3 separate regions of the Homo sapiens genome follow, and regions 2 and 3 are each linked to region 1. The links are contacts of gene promoters, found by promoter capture Hi-C in human tissues and cell types (Jung and others, 2019). All regions are on one chromosome and are shown on one strand. Each heading gives the region's core, a stretch centred on a gene start or on the middle of the fragment in contact. The rest is flanking DNA. Distances are from core to core; before and after follow the strand shown. Region 1 holds the start of PKD1L1 (polycystin 1 like 1, transient receptor potential channel interacting). Region 2 overlaps TNS3 (tensin 3). Region 3 has its middle 18 kb from the start of TNS3.

The links. Contacts are between HindIII fragments. The study calls those that stand out against the background at their distance.
Region 2: a fragment that was not itself captured here is called in contact with the fragment with the promoter of PKD1L1 in region 1 in 1 of the 25 tissues and cell types used here (neural progenitor cells).
Region 3: a fragment that was not itself captured here is called in contact with the fragment with the promoter of PKD1L1 in region 1 in 1 of the 25 tissues and cell types used here (adrenal gland).

The regions. Positions count from the first base shown.
Region 1 is chr7:47,946,446-47,950,109 of GRCh38, reverse strand. PKD1L1 (polycystin 1 like 1, transient receptor potential channel interacting) reads left to right here and starts at 1,644. Exons shown (of 57, transcript NM_138295.5): 1 at 1,644-1,713. The coding sequence starts at 1,670. The HindIII fragment of the contact is 8,797 bases long and covers 1-3,664 here.
Region 2 is chr7:47,556,458-47,560,121 of GRCh38, reverse strand. The region is part of intron 1 of TNS3 (tensin 3); the gene reads left to right. Among named protein-coding and RNA genes, the nearest start is that of TNS3, 24 kb to the left of the region's middle. RefSeq lists enhancers at 1,604-2,331, 3,060-3,664. The HindIII fragment of the contact is 6,111 bases long and covers 1-3,664 here.
Region 3 is chr7:47,598,483-47,602,146 of GRCh38, reverse strand. No RefSeq gene overlaps it. Among named protein-coding and RNA genes, the nearest start is that of TNS3, 18 kb to the right of the region's middle. RefSeq lists an enhancer at 997-1,086. The HindIII fragment of the contact is 5,292 bases long and covers 1-3,664 here.

The DNA of each region.
Region 1 (3,664 bases), core at 395-2,894:
ACTGCAGTTTGCAGTTTATCCTTTTCTTGGTCACAGGCGCATTTGAAAGTGTATTGCTAATGAAATTGGAAAGTATGCATTTCCCCCAAATCTGAGATTTACTCACAACAAGCACAGTGGGGACAAAGCCAGAGGCACTGACAAGGCAGTGTGAGAAGAGCAGAGGTGGCAGCAGGCCCCAGGAGACAGGTGTGTTAGGTCAACAGCAGGCCCCTTAACCCACCACAGGGCTCTGGTTACTCACCTCATTGGCAGCAAAGTTCCAGAAAACACAGGATCCAAGGCCGGACACCCGTAGCTTGGTTCATCATTGTTCAAGGGGTCTGTGTTCCCATCTGAGAAAGAGCTTGTGCCTGAAAACGTTCCCACTCTTCTTGGTATCACTCTCTTCAGAGTGGAGAGAAAAAATATCTAGTGTTCTGAGTAAAACATTAAGTTTTCTAAAATCTCTGAAGGTTTAAATGTTGGTATAAAGAACTAAGACAACTAACAAGTGCTTTAAAAATATAAGAGAAAATGTTTCGTAATGGAGAGAACTCAGTCTGACCCGCCAGTTGCAAACAAGGAGAGGTGCAGGAGGTTCGGAACCAGATCATTCCTAGGTTCTGCCGTAAGACAGAGTGCGCCTAGTGTGTGCCTTGCCAGCCTTCCTTAGGAATGCTCTTCTGCTCTTGTGGAAGGTATCCTGTTCCCCAGTGCAGTTGTGGACAGTTACAGCTTTTTTTTTTTTTTTTTTTTTTTGAGACAGAGCCTCGCTCTGTTGCCCAGGCTGGAGTGTGGTGGCACGATCTCGGCTCACTGCAACCTCCGCCTCTCGGTTTCGAGCAATTCTCCTGCCTCAGCCTCCCGAGTAGCTGGGACTACAGGTGCGTGCCACCATGCCTGGCTAATTTTTGTATTTTTAGTAGAGACGGGGTTTCACTATGCTGGCCAGGCTGGTCTCGAGCTCCTGACCTCGTGATCCGCCCACCTCGACCTCCCAAAGTGTTGGGATTATAGGCGTGAGCCACCGCGCCCAGCCAACAGTTACAGCTTTTTATTCTCAGACTTCTCTCAGCTTCCATGTACAGTCTCTCCCTTGAGTAGTGATCTGTTTCAGGCAGCCACAAAGATCCCTACCTAAAACACACTTTTGTTTTGTTTTGTTTTGTTTCATTTTGTTTTTGAGGCAGAGTCTCACTCTATTGCACAGTGGTGCAATCTCGTCTCACTGCAACCTCCACCTCCTAGGTTCAAGCAATTCTCTCGCCTGAGCCTCCTGGGTAACTGGGATTACAGATGTGTGCCACCACACTTGGCTATTTTTGTATTTTTAGTAGAGACGGGGTTTCACCATATTGGCCAGGCTGGTCTCAAACTTCTGGCCTCAAGTGATCCACCCACCTTGGCCTCCCAAATTGCTGGGATTACAGACATGAGCCACCACGTCTGTCAAAAGCACACTTCTTAGGAAGGAATTTGTCTGACAGTGTTAGGAAAACAAAAGCTGTTTCTGCTTGGGAAAATGTTACTGGAGTTTGGATTTTTCCCTCTGTGTTTGATGTGTGTCCTGATAAGAGGTCACAAGTACAGAAGCTGGAAGCATTAAGCTCTATTTCTTTGTCTTCCAGAGGATGTAGGAAGAAGCTGGTCTGCTGACTGTCATACTTGTGACCAGCTTGCACAGGACATGGCCGAGGAGGCAGCCCAGAACATTTCTGATGACCAGGAAAGGTGAGTTATCACTGTTCTCAGAGGGTTTGGTAAGCTTGATTTTAAAGTATGCATTCAGAAATTTTCTTTCAAAAGTCATCACCTCTAGGATGTGGGCTCACTCTGGCACGAGTGGAGGCCCTGTACCAGGAGGGTGCATTTGGCCGGCGGGGTCAGTTCAGAGGTTGGAGTTGGTGTTGAGAATGGAGTTTTTTCCTGAAGGCTTTTGAGAAGACTCCTCCAAGCGGATGCCTTCAGCCATGAGAAGTGCTGATTGCTCTTCCTGCAAATGCAGGATACCTTCCAAGTTCGAGGACTTTCTGCTGCCTGGTAGTAGACAAAGTTAAGCTATCTGCTTGTCTGCTAGGTCCCTTGCATGGAGACCAGGAGAAACCTGGCACAGGAAGAGATCATGGGGTCTTGGCCCAGGGGTCTTATTTCTTTTTTTTTGAGACGGAGTCTCTCTCTGTTGCCCAGGCTCGAGTGCAGAGGTGCGATCTTGGCTCACTGCAAGCTCTGCCTCCTGGGTTCATGCCATTTATCCTGCCTCAGCCTCCCAAGTAGCTGGGACCACAGGCGCCCACCACCACGCCCGACTAATTTTTTGTATTTTTAGTAGAGACGGGGTTTCACTGTGTTAGCCAGGATGGTCTCGATCTCCTGACCTTGTGATCTGCCCGCCTTGGCCTCCCAAAGTACTGGGATTACAGGCATAAGCCACCGCACCCAGCCTCCATGGGTCTTATTTCTAAACCCTCTTCCCCATGCTCTGTGCGCGCCAGCACCCATGTGTTGTTGAGGCTGGGCAGCCTGTGTGCTCTGCTGTTGACTGTCTCATGGCAGTGTGACATGGTGCAAACCTCCATGCCCCCTTTCCTGGGCGTGAGGCCAGCAAGGTGACCTGCCTGTGGGATGTGGTAAGGACCCAGGTGGGTCACCGCTGTCCCCTGGCCTGGCATGATGGGAGCCTGTGCCTGCAGATCTTGCCCAGTGGGGTACCCCGCCACTGCAGGTCACTTTACCTCCTCACCCCCAGATTTCTCATCCTGAAAATCTGAGTACCCCTGTTGTCACATCTGTAAACTCCAGAGGGTCGTTATAAAAATCAGTATCCTTGATGAATGCTTGCTGTCAGCATTTCTGCCTTTGTTAGCTTACTGTCTTTGTGCCATCACCATCATTTTATCAAAGAAACCCAAAGCAAACCAGGATGAGAAAATGAGGCTGCACGTGTTGACGGGGTTGGTCACATTCATGCTTGGAAATTTCTTTGCCTTATGTCACTCACTGCTGCCAAGCATTGTCTGATTTTGGCTACAATTTTTTCCCTTATTTTTTCTGGTTACCTCATGTTTCTTTTATTCCAAATGCCCATGCTCCTGCAGACTCCCAGAGCCTTGATGTTGGCCCAATTTGACCTTCACTCTTATCAGTCAGGGAATTGCAAGGAATTACCCCTTTGCCCTTAGAAAGGAAAGAAAAGCTGAGGAGCGGAAGTCGCTGACTTGATGTTTTTTCCCCTGTATATTTATACATCTTGTACTTGCAGACCAACTAGTTCATGCACGCACTAGCCATTGTAATTGGTGTCGAGGCCCCATTTCTGAAGTCATAGCCTTTTGGGGTTTCCTGAGTCACCTAAAGCAAGACAGTGACTGATCTTGTTCATAGAAACAGAAGAGGTTTCTTGACTCTCCTGTAGCCCTCATTTCATGGAGTTAGGCCTGTAGTGTCTGTGTGTGTGTGTGTGGTATAGGACATGTGTGTGGGTGGTGTGGTGTGTGGTCTGTGTGTAGTGTGTGGTGTATGTGTGGTATGGTATGAGTGGGGTATGGTGTGTGTGTGATACATGGTGTGTGCTGTGTGATGTGTGTGTAATGTGTTGGTGTGTGTGTGGTGTTTGTGTGTATGGTGTGTTTGTGTGGTGCGTGGTGTGTGGTGTGTGCGATGTGTGTGTGGTGGGTGGGTATGT
Region 2 (3,664 bases), core at 789-3,288, 390 kb after region 1:
AGGGGGGCGGGTCACAGACATTCTGACCATGGCAATGATGCAGAAAAGCCCAGTTTGAGGTGGGCTGCAAAGGGAGACCCGCGGCCGGCTCTTGCAGTCCTGCGGGGGTGGAGCAGGTGGTGTAGACCCAGCTTCCTACCTTGGGGCCCCAGTGGCCCTCAGCAGCATCGTGAATCCCTTCATGCTAGGTGTAGTGTGTGTGGATTGTTCTCAGGGTTTGTAGCTTCATCAGATCATCAGGGCTGCTCGACCGCCGAATGTGAAGGCCAGGGTTTCCTTGTCCTATGCTACAGCAGCTCTCTCTGCGTGTCCTGGTCCCCAGGCTGCCCATTGCCCTGATGAAGATGCATGGTGGAGCTTGGGCCTGGAATGAGGGGGAGTGGAAGGAGGTGAGTGCAGAGATGGACAAGGGCCCCAGGGAGACTGGGGCCATAGGATGCTGTGAACTTTGATGGAGGCCTCAGAGATGTAGAGCAGGAGGGCTGGCCTCTCGTAAGATTGGCTCCTGTGGCTCTTGTTTTAGCCCCTTCCAGCCCCCATCCCTGCCTCTTGTTCTCCATTCTCTGCATAGTCCTGGGGTGCGTAAAGATGATGTGACGAGGCTGAGGCACCGCCCTGCACCAGAAAGTTCTTGGAACTCGCCAAGGGCACATTCCTAAGATGCAATGTTGTGAAGCCACCTCTGCTGTCCCTTGGAGAATTCTCCCGCTCCCATTATTAAAAATCTGAACATGTGTCTTGATGTCTGTTTATTTATTTATTTATTTTTTGTGAGATGGAGTTTTGCTTTGTTGCCCAGGTGTGAGTGCAGTGGCGTGATCTTGGCTCACTGCAACCTCCACCTCTCAGGTTCAAGCAGTTCTTCTGCCTCAGCCTCCCAAGTAGCTGAGACTACAGGCGCGCGTCACCATGCCTGGCTAATTTCTGTATTTTTAGTAGAGATGGAGTTTCACCATATTGGCCAGACTGGTCTCAAATTCCTGATCTCATGATCCGCCCACCTTGGCCTCCCAAAGTGATGGGATTACAGGTGTGAACCACCACGACCTGCCTGTCTGTATATTTAAATATGCATTAAACATGGGGTTGGAAGAGTGACATGGGAGGTCTATATACACGGGCGTTGCGAGATTTGCTTCTGCCTTCCAGTGCTTTCCCTTGGGCTCCCTCTGGGGAGATTTCGGCTCTGGGAGATTTGCGGCCAGTTTTGCCATTACCAGGTGAGTGGAAGGGCTCGAGGGGGTCATGCAAAGCTTCCTCCTGCTCATGGCCTTGGACATAACCAAGGAGGGCTTGGACTTGGACCCTGAGCAGGGTTTTCCTGCAGGTGTACACAGAGGAATGTCCCATAGGGTGGCTGTGTGGGAGAGTGGGACCCTGGGGAGGCAGAGCTGGGACCCTCTGCTGAGGGGGGCCCCAGGCAGTGGGCCTTGTCCTCTCCTCATGCGTGGGAAACCTGCCCAGGGAGGCTGTGGTTATTTTGTCCCAGTTTTTCCATCGACGAAACAGGAGTCGGTGGAAATTTGCAAGTAGGTGATGGGAGAGGTGGGCCTGAACCCCAAGTCCTTAGAATGAAAACCTGGGCCTTTCTTGGTCCCTGCAGGTGTGCTCCACTGCAGGGTGGGGAGGTGCTGGGGTCGGCCTCTTTGAAGTTGGGCTGATGGACACAAAGGGGTTGGGGTTGGTGGAGGCACCCACTCTTGCATGGAGGAGGGTGTGGGACCCTCTGCCAAGTGTCAAGTTAGCCTGAAATGAGGCACAGACTGGGAGCTTTGCTTTTTGCCCTGGGGTAAGAATAAAAGAAGAAAACAATGCAGGCCGAGGAAGCATTCCTAGGAGGTGGCGCAGCCTCTTTGATCCTCCTCGGCACCGGCTTGCTGTAGCTTGCTCTTATCAGGACGGCAAATACCCTGTTTCCTTTTATGTTGGGAACCTACAAGAGGCTCTGATGCTAGAATCGGGCTCCCTCATTCTTGCCTGCAGGAAGCAGTGTCCTGTATACAGGCGTCAGCACCCACATGGGGGTGGACAGTGGAGGGCCAGCCTGGGCCTGCCTCGTGTGCTCAGGCCTCCTTGGTGGGGGTGGGAGTGGTGCAGAAGTTCTCGTCATTTGTCATTTGCCAGAGGGACGATGGGCAGACAGCAGAGATGTCCCGAGGCCTGCTCACCGCAGGCCTTCTACGCAGCCCTCTGGAAAAGAGGCCATCCTTCCAGTTTGGAGACTTCCTCTGGAGAATTCCATGACACACATTCTTGAACTGTGGATGTAATCCAGTAAGGCGTGGTTCATGGCATGTGGTGTGGAATAATTCATTGTTGGACAGTTTGCTCTAGGAATGGCGTGGCCTCCCTACCTCCTCCCACTACATGCTAGTGGCCACCCCAGTGGTGGTGATGGTTAAAATGTCCTCACATTTCCAAATGTCCCCAGCGCCTCCAATTATTAGTAGGCAGAGAAGTCAGTTGGCACTTAAAAAAACAAACTAGGATGAAAAATCCCAGAGAGTATTCTGCCAGTTGCCACGTCATATTCCCATAAAACCTTCAGTTATTTACCCATATGGGTGCTTTACCTGGTTGTTACTTAAGATAGATTTCTGTATGTGTTGCAAGGAAAGGCATTGCAGAAATGGACAGGACCATTTTTTTCGTTCCACATTGTGACTCTTCCTTTCCTGTATTTGAAAGATTAAAAGATAGCACCCCCTAGATGGGTGAGGGTTGGGTTAAATAGTAGTGTTGGGACAGAAAGGTCCATTTGTGAGCTCGCTGCAGGCAGGTTTGATGGTTCTGGTGGAAGTAGCCTTGGCGGCTGCTGGTTTTCAAAGCCTCTGACAAAGCTGTGCATATCACCCGTGACTGCACCCTGAGGAAAGACGAAAAGTCAGCCTCTCCCTTACGTAGGACGCTTGTAAACTTTCCCAGACGCACTGTTGGTCTTAAGGATTGTTCTGACCCTGGACATTTGCAGGACTTGTCCAAGGTGGATCTGAGCCTCCTCATGTGCTCCAGGCAGAGATCAGGATTCGGATGCATCACCAACTGGTGGAAGATGGGGACTAGGCACCCTGCACACCCTGCACAGGTCAGGTTCTGTTGCTCCCCGCCCCCGCTGCTCCTGGTTATCGTCTGTGGGGGGCATGGCTTGGTGGCAGGGACTGGAGGACAGAGGGCTGGGAGTAGGGCCTCTTGGCTGCAACCTGCCCTTCTGCCCAGCACCGTTGCATTGAGAATCGCCAGGTGCCATTCCTTCCTTGCATGCCATGCTCACTGTACCAAAGACTTGTGGAGTTTTGCCATTTGGGTTTATGGGAGGTTGCATTCCCCTCAGCCCAGCCAGTGAGAGCGGGCAGCGTCTGGCCTGGGGCCCGCACTTTGCAGCCCCTGAAGATCTCAGCTGTTATGCCTCTGCTTTGCTTCCCTCAGCTTGGGAAGCTTCACTCGCCCCTGCCCCCAGAGTGTGACTCAGATGTACCCACTGACCGGAGGAACTTGTTGGGAGGAAGTCACAATTATGGGCTTAGGGAAAGAAAAGTCAAACAACCAACAAAATAATAATCATGCTCGCCTGTGGATTGGGCCTAAGGGATGTGGGGCCCTCTGTCGTCCTCGGTTCCCTACCTCAGAGCTTCAGATGCCCAGACTCAGGCCGGAGGCTCCTAGG
Region 3 (3,664 bases), core at 663-3,162, 350 kb after region 1:
ATAGAGAATTTAAAGTAGAAGCTGACCTCCAGCCTGACTCCTCCCAGGCAGCTTCTTTTGCAGCTTACAGAGTCCATGCCCCACTCTGACACCTCTTCTGGCCAGGGTGTAAGAATGCAGGACCTCTGCACAGGAGCAGGTGGGGGGTGTCAACTTCTAACAAGGTGAACTTTGCTTTGTCAAATGTGTGCTGAGCAGGATCTGCCATCAGTTGGGCCTGAGTTTGTCGTCAGAGGGTCTCTCCATAGTGGGAAGCTTCACGGTGTTTTTCACCAGCTGCTTCTGAATCACACAGGTGGCTCTGAATCACACAGTGTGACATGACTGATTTCGGCAGAGGTCTCAAAATGCAGCTCAGATGTCACCATCTCCATGAGGACATCCCTAAACCCCTCTCAGTGTCAGTCATTTCCTCCTCCAGGCCACCCTGCACCTCTGTTTTACCTTCCATATCACAATATGCTTCTTTCCTTATGTGGCCGTCTCCTCCCCTGGTTGATGTCTTCCCCAATGCATTGGTGTGAATCACCTTCCCCCATGAATTGGTGTGAATCACCTTCCCCCCGTGCATTGTGTTAATGTACACACTGAACAGATTTCTTAGGCAAAGCTGTGAACCCCACCATCCCAGGGACAGGCAGCATCCACATTCTATTCAATGTGAATCACTCTTCCTGGGGTTGGGCAACATAGGGTAGCACTGATTTTAGTGCTCATTAAACCATTTGTTAAACTAATGTGAAATTGCAGAGAAACCTTCTGCCCTTCACCTTGAGGGTGGAAATTAAAGTCAAGACCCACTTAAGAGGAAAGGCCCTGGTGAATTACAACCACTTCCCCTTTTTAATTTCAGTCAACACTTTTACACTGGGACCAAGGGGGCACAAAAGTAATATCCCTTTGCTGAAGGTCTGCAGGAGTTATCATTGCATCCCTCTGAAGGGGACATTCGGAAGTGTGGTTTTGAGATGTCAAAATTTAATCATTGCTAAGAGTTAATGTGGCCTCAGCAGTAAATACACAGGCCCTGCTCCAAGCTGAACCCAGGGTGAATGGTCAGAAAACAAGTCAGGAGAAAAGACACTGGTGGAGGAGGAAGGAGCTTGCTCTGACCCGGAGAAAGAACTCAGTGCCCGTCTTGGCTCAGCACCCTGTCCTGCAGCCCCAGTTTTCTCAGCTGTGAATCACGCCAATAGAACCGTAGATTAGTGGTTTTCAGACTTTTTTAAAGAGACAGTATCTCATTATGTTGCTGTAATGCAGTTGAAACGGGAAAAGTTCCCTTGTCCTCTTCACAGGGCATGTGATGGGGATGTGGCTCACTTCTTTGGTGCCCCCCTGCTCACACCTCTAGGGGAGCATACAGACAGGCAGGTTGTGGGGCTCTGATGCCATGGCAGTGTCTAGGGGTGAATGTTTACAACTTCTGAAGCCCCAGTGGGCGTGTGTTACAGGGTGATCTTTTAGTTTGCCATCCATAGGCAGCTTGTGTTAGTCAGCTCAATTAGACCGTCTACCTTGTCTCAAGGACAGAGGGCTTTCTGTATCCCTGGGTTTCTTGCCTTGGTGTACTAGAAGAATCAGATCACACATGGGCTTGCAGAATGAGTGCAAGGTTTTATTGAGTGGAAGTAGCTCTCAGCAGACAGGGGAGCCAGAGGGAAATTGTTTTCCCCTGGAGTTGGGCAGCTCGGCAGCCCAGGCTCTCCTCAGACTGCCCCAGCCAAACTCCATGTCATTACACCAGTTGATGGCCTGCGGGCATGCCGGTGCCTGTCAATGTGCTCTTCTGCCTGCGTGCTCTCGACGATCAGCCGCTTGTGTCTTCTTCCACCTATGTGTTCCTCACAATGTCCAGTCGCTTGTGTGTCTCTGCCTTGTTAAGGTCTCAGTTTTTATAGGCCCAGGATGGGGCCAGGTGGTGGTGGGCCAGGGTGGTCTTGGAAATTGCAACATTTGGACGTGAAAGCAGAAGTGCCTGTCCTCACCTAGGTCCTTGGGGGTGAAGCCCTAGCCAGGAACCCGCCTTCTTCTACCCAGCTCTTCCCCTCTCTGCTTCTGTATCATTTAAAGGGACCACGCTCTTCCCTTCCCAGCACTCCCTTATCATATCCCCCCTTTAAAGAGGTACATCTAACTGCCACTAGAATATGGACGATGACCGGTCTTAGCTGTTTCCTGTTGACAGGGGCGTTGTTTTGGGGAAAACGGCAGTCAGACTCCTCCCAGAGGTCTATCTAAGGGTTCCTAGCAAAGGGGAGCCATCGTTTGAGGCTCCGGTTGCCTGACGGTTTGGAGTTTGAGGGTTTCTAGGCATGAGAGAAAAAAACAAGTTTTATAAGGTTAAGAATGCATGAGTTAAACATGTGTATTATAACAAGGAAAGAATTGAGTGCCAAAGATTACAGAGACAAGAAGTAAAATATACTAACAACAACATTGTACCCCAAGCTGTTTCATCCTGGTGAAAGAAATTAAACCTTGTATGGGAGCGGATAAACTTTAGAAGAGAGATAGCTGTTCTTGCCATATCCTTAGCAATTCACAGATGCACCCTGGGAATACCTGTATCTTGTCTCTCTTTCCTAGGCTTCCCTTTCTCTATTATAAAAGACTGAGGTAGCCACTTTCAAGAGGTCCTCTAATATACTGTCTGGTCCTAGGACCGGTTTTTGCAACTTCCTACTGATGTCAGGGGCAGCCTGAGTGATAAATTTATCCTTTAGGATTAGCCGTCCCTTGACTGAATCAGGAGATAGAGAGGTGTGCTTTACCAAGGCCTCTCTTAGCCTTTCCAGGAAGGCAGTGGGATTTTCATCAAATCCCTGGTCAATCATGGACAACTTAGTATAATTGAGAGTCCTATGTAAGCCCTCCATTATGCACACCTGAAAGTGTTTCCTCTTCTCATCTTCCATCTTGTCACTGGGATCCCATGTAGGGTCATTCACTGGTACTGCTTCTCTTCAGGTTGGATAATGTTCACCCCCTTCCCTGATGCTATATGTGACACAAAGCTCATCCCCAAATCTCTCTGCTGCTTGAAGAGCGACCTGTTTCTCAGTGTCCATCAGGGTCTGATTCAAAAGTAACATAACATCTCTCCAGGAGAGTTCAAATATTTGGGTGAAATTCTGGAAAGCCTCTATTTATCTATCAGGGTCATCTGAAAACTTGCAAAGATCTTCCTTAATTTACTTTAAGTCCCGTAGGGAGAAGGGGACCTGGACCTTACTGGGCCCAAATTCACTGGGCATTTGTTGGAGGGGCAAAAGTGAGACTGGGGCTTGTTTAGGGGGAGGATTTTTAGGAGTGGGCAAGTGAGACGCTGAAGCTGTAGAAGGAGGCAGGGGTGAACTTGGAGGAACAGGGTTTGAGGGAGCTGGCTCCTCTGCTGGGGGTGCCTCTGGCACTCGTGTCTTTACTTCCCTGGGCTTGCCCCTTGCAGCCTTCCTTGAGATGGCAAACAGGAAGGCTAGATCAATCCTACACTGTCGGCAAAGGTCCTTGCAAGGTACAGAAAGCCTACACATATGGAGCCTCAGACTACCTGCCCTCACATCTACAGAAAAGTTCCAATTGCCAGATTGTATTGAAATGAATGGTTCCTCCCTGAGGCCAAGCCAGTCTTTCCTGTGAATCATAATTTGGCCAAACCTTTGTG